Regions from separate parts of the Homo sapiens genome. Here region 2 is linked to region 1. The links are contacts of gene promoters, found by promoter capture Hi-C in blood cells and fetal thymus (Javierre and others, 2016). All regions are on one chromosome and are shown on one strand. Each heading gives the region's core, a stretch centred on a gene start or on the middle of the fragment in contact. The rest is flanking DNA. Distances are from core to core; before and after follow the strand shown.

Region 1 (2,700 bases), core at 167-2,666:
AAATACTGGTTAGGGCGGTGGGGTAGGGGGAGGACAAATCCATCCCCAGCTACCACTCCATCAGCAGCCAGTATGTCAGATCCCTCTGTTGGTCTTCAACACTGGATCTTTGCAGCCATGCTCCATGCTCCTGCTAGCTCCCCAACCTTCTGTCCTCCCCAGTTACCTGCTCAGAGGGCATACTGCCTCTCCTGCTGCCTTTCCCGATCGGCATTATTTACCCTTATTTATTGTTTCATTAGAAGCTTTCTCTGATTTTCACGAAAGGGAGTATGTAGCCCATCCAACATTGAATTCCTTTACGGAGAAGCTCTACAGCCCAAGGGATCCAGCATTAGGATCATTGAAATTTCGCGTTCTGAGTTCCAGCGGGCTTTTCTTTAACATCATTGTTTTACTCACTACTTCCCCTCCCACGTCCTCCTTTTCCAGGCCAGCTCTGGCACACAGCGGGGGACTAACAAATGTTCGTTGAATAATCAGGAAAGTCATTTAAAAATGGTTTTTAAATTTTTGATTAGTTTCCTACATCTGGAAAGTGGGAAATTTGTATGCAAACCATGAGATCATTTCACTTAAACCTTAGTGATGAGTTTCTTTAACTTCTCTCTTAAAATGAAATTCCATTCTGTGTATGTTTGATTGTATGTGTGTTATGCATGTGTGTGTATGTGTTTGATGCATGTGTGTGTCCTTGTTCATAACGATTTACCCTTTCCTGAATTTAGCCAAACAGACCTAAATGTGTGTTACTAATCGTTTTAATTATTACTCTTCTACCAATTCAGTCTGGAGTTAAAAGAGCATAAAGAGGCCAATTCAATTATGTCACTCTTCCCCCTGCCCACTCACACCCACACCTATTCATTTCTATTCAACCATCTGCTAGGCTTAACTGACTTGGTCTTTTATATCCCATAAATGGCACCTTGGTGGAATGCCTCAGACTGGACAAGGTACCTCCCAGTACTTGTGCACCAGGTGGCAGGGACAGAGGTCCCATACCTTCTCTTACTCTGAGTTAAACATAGCAGGACAACATTACCTCTTTGGATCCTGATCACAATCCTCCAGATGCCCAGTCCCAAAATGATGCCAGTCAGTAGTCCACACACGACAGCCACCAGCACCCTAAGGTTCCAGGCACGGCAGGAAGCCATGGTGAAGCCAAACCACAAATCCACTCCTGGGTGAGAAATAACTAGCTTCTTTTCTTCTTGAGCTAAAAAGTTTAATCGGAAACTATTCTAAAACAGAAAAACAAGTCCTCCCCTCAGTGATCTGTCAGATGGATGTCTTTGTATTTTAGGACTTTTGAGGCTAATCCAGTAGGATGCAGTTTGAATCTCCTAATAAAAGGTGCATACTCTGCTTTCAATTTCCTCATCCTTCACTCAAGGAGAACATGAAAAAAGTGATTAGAGTTATGGGAATAGGGAGATAACTCAGGGCAATAAAGAAGAAGGGGAGGGACTAGCCACAAGGGTCAAAGAGTGAATGCCCAGACAAGCCACAGAGTGAAGGAAGGGAACAAAATAGAAGAAACCAAAGAGGAAATCACAAAGGCAGTGGTTGCCAGTAGTCACCTATGGCTCGGCTTCCTGTATTTTTGTCTTGGGAGGGTACAGCAGAGATAGACTGGCAGGTGCTTCAGACCACACAAAACACTCTCTCGGGGAAATGAACTAGGTTGTCAATAAGAGGATAAATGGCAATCACCACACATGGTTTTTAGCGCTTGCATTTCTTTAAGGAGCCTACATTTTGACAGATGCAGTTGGTGAGTGTGCATACTGGCACAGGCTGGGTCTTGACAAGCACTAAAGCCCAGCATGATAACCCACCTGCTATGGGCTGAATTGTGTCCCCTCCAACATTCATATGTTGGAGTCCTAACCTTCGGTACCTCAGAATGAGGCCTCACATGGAGATGTGGTTACTGCAGAGGTGATCGAGTTAAAACGAGTTTGTTAGGGTGGTCACTAATCAATATGGCTGGTGTCCTCATAAGAAGAAGAAATCTGAACACAGACATGAATACAGAAAGATGATCTGAAGAGACAGAGAGAGAAGACGGCCATCTACAAGAGAGAGTCCTCAGAAGGAACTGGCTCTGCTGACACCTTGACTTGACTTCTAGCCACCCAAACTGTAAGACAACAAATTTATGTTGTTTAAGCCACCCAGTTTGTGGTACTTTATTAGAGCAGCCCTGGGAAACTAATACATCATCAGAGTAACTACAAACTGGTGTCTCTCTATAGATGCAGCTCTGACCCTCTCCTGCCCAGGCTCCCATGTTCTCCTTCCCTACCCTCTACCCTTACAGGGAAGAACAGATACATGAACATTCACCTCCTCAATCACAGTTTTGTTTTGGTAGAGAGAACAGATGCTCTGGTCTTCTCTGGACACTCCCTTGCTTCATCAAATCCATATTAAATGCCTTTAATGTGTTTGAATTGGTACAAGACATGAACAGGGTCCTCAAAGAACTCATAATTTCTCAGGGGTGAGATACCTAGATATAGCCACCTATAAGGCAAGTCATAACTGCTAAAATAAAAGATCATCATATTTAATTATTATGGAGTGCAGGTGCTCCTTGACTTACAATAAGATTACATCCCAATAAATCCACCTTAAGTTAAAAAATATCTTAAGTCAAAACGCATTAAATATACACCTAACCTGCTGAAC
Region 2 (2,700 bases), core at 96-2,595, 300 kb after region 1:
TTCACCGTGTTATCCAGGATGGTCTTGATCTCCTGACCTCGTGATCTGCCCGCCTCAGCCTCCCAAAGTACTGGGATTACAGGCGTGAGCCACTGTGCCCGGCCTACTTTCATTTTTAGAAGAAATGTCATTAACAACAAAAAAAATTATGTTTCTATTTCCATATCTAAATTCAGAGCCAAATTAAACTGTAAAAATTCTTTGGTACTTTGAAAAGAATGCTCTTTAAGATAATTTCTAAAATAGCCTCAATCAGTGTTTTTCAAATCTGAATATAAAAGCTTCAATAGAAAAACTATCCAGTGATGTGAATGGGAATATAAATTAGAATGTTTTTTGGAGAGCCATTTGATAATAATGCAGAAGTCTAAGGACTTTGGTAACATTTTAATCAAGTTATTCCACTTCCAGGACAAAATAATCATGGCATATGCAAATTTATCACTACAAAAATTAAATAGTGTTTGTAACAGAAAAAAACTGGAAACAATGTAAATATTGAACAATAGAGAACTGAATAAATTATAATACACCCATAAAATGAAATATTATTTAGTTATTTAAAGTGAAAATAGCAAACGTTTACTAAGTAATGGTGATTTCACACAATGGCATCAAGTTAAAAATAAGAGTATCAAATTAAAAATAAGATTCTCAGACAAACCTTATCTGCTGATGTGAAAATAATCTGATTTTGATTTGCATGGCTGAAGATAAACCTCAACTAACACAGGTAGTGAGTTACAATTTCGTAATAACTACTATTAAATATCTGGTGACAGGTACTATACTTTCCATTTACTTGCACTGTTAATTCTCAAGTTATCCTTAGAAAGAAGGTTATGTTGTTAACATTTATATTCCACAGGTGGAGAAACCACAGCTCAAAGATCTTGCTGGAGATCATGAAGAAAGTAAGTTGTAGATGAAATCTGAACCCAGGTATGTCAGACCTGTAAGCCCAAGCTACTAACTGTGACCTTGTACTGCAGTTTTCCTTCTATTTCTGTTTTAAAGAATAATCACTAGGTATGTGAGGACCATTATTTATGAATAATTTAATGACATCTAATTCAACTGACATGAAATATTGAAGTACTGGAAAAGCACAAAAGACCTATTACCCAAATATTTCCAAAGAACAGAAAAACAGATTTATCCACTGTAGCAAAACTGGGTAGTAATACACATCTCAATAACTAAAAATCAAATAAAATAGGATTGGCAACTTGTTCTTGTCTTCCTCTGCCTGGCCAATTCTCAAATGTGGATAGACTCAAGTCCAAATCATTTAAGTCTGTGATGGGGATGGGTACAGACATAGTGTGCACGAGATGATTATGAGCCCTAGTATTCTGGCAAAAACTAACTGGGAGATGCCTGGAATCAGCTTGCTTAAGAGTCCCAGCTATTTACAGGACCCAGATTTGTCCCCATTGATATTTAAGCTGGAACATAAAACTGTCACTACATGATACCAAACTACAGCTGGACAGGGAGAAATTTGAATTCAGCAGCTGAACTTCAAGAGCTCCCACCTAGTTTAACTGTGAAGGCTTGCTGTATCATTTCATTAATCTCACAATAAATAATGGCTTGCTGTATCATCTCATTAATCTCACAATAATATGACTCTTCATTGCATGTGTTTGAAATGTTTTGACTCCATTTCTGTTATGGTGGGGGTTTAGTAGTTAATCACCTTTTCTGGGAACTTATCCAAATCCGGTAACATATTCTCTACATATACTTACATCAACAGAATTGATACTGCTCCTTGAGCCTGAGGTACTAGCAATCCAATGGCCATATCCATTTTCTGGTCCATCCACATTAATGTCTGCCAGGTGCTGCTGCAGTGCTTAAGATAAATTAAAAAAAAAAGAAAAACCTAAAATATCAACACTCTTTGGAAAAATTCATTACCAACGAAATACAATAAACATGTCACAGCTGAGAAAAAAGGACTGAAGGAAATAATCACAGGTATTTCTTTCTGCACGTCTGTAAAGGAGTAAAGGCCTCCAAGCTAGAGCAAACCTTCCTATTCTTCCTTCTAAAACCCTCTGTACACGGATAACTTTTCTTAACTGACGCCAATGTGATGATAACTGTATAGGCTTTACGTTTTCTTCTTTGAAAGGAAATCTTTCAAGTATTAACAGATAATTTCTGCAACATTTTTATGACATAAAGGATAACAGAAAACCGATTGTGACTTTTGTTATACCATAAGGAGATATCAATCAATCTCTCCCATAATAAAGAAGCATTGTTAGCCATTAACAGTTACGGAAAGAGAGATTATTCTTGGTAAAGAAATACTTCATGGTTTTAAAAAATTTTCTAAAATCTGGGTTATACTATAAAAGAATGCTTTTCAGACACTTTTGAGAATTACAAGCTTAATAATCAAGTTTTATATCGTTACCAGGATTCCTAATAAATAACACTGAGCCTAGGGCCAATACATGTTTAACACTACTTATTAAAATAACCCCTTTTGTACATCACTCTGGGTATGAACCTCAAAAGTCATTAGTTATCAGGTCATGATATACAGAAGATAATCATAATCCTTGTTAATATCAACAATGACCAGGAGGAAATACATCCTAATGTTCCCAAAATCCTAAGTTACAGCCTAACTCCCATGATTAAAGCCTAAGATTCCATTACCCTCAACATATACTGATTTGA

The links. Contacts are between HindIII fragments. The CHiCAGO score rates a contact against its expected background, and 5 or more counts as called.
Region 2: a fragment that was not itself captured here is called in contact with the fragment with the promoter of ADGRG7 in region 1 in 1 of 17 cell types (naive CD4 T cells); the score reaches 5.2 in naive CD4 T cells.

What each region holds. Positions count from the first base shown.
Region 1 is chr3:100,608,317-100,611,016 of GRCh38, reverse strand. ADGRG7 (adhesion G protein-coupled receptor G7) reads right to left here and starts at 1,416. Exons shown (of 16, transcript NM_032787.3): 1 at 1,046-1,416. The coding sequence starts at 1,160. The HindIII fragment of the contact is 7,171 bases long and covers 248-2,700 here.
Region 2 is chr3:100,305,598-100,308,297 of GRCh38, reverse strand. It overlaps TBC1D23 (TBC1 domain family member 23), which reads right to left. Exons shown (of 19, transcript NM_001199198.3): 13 at 1,755-1,861. Among named protein-coding and RNA genes, the nearest start is that of NIT2, 28 kb to the left of the region's middle. The HindIII fragment of the contact is 2,123 bases long and covers 284-2,406 here.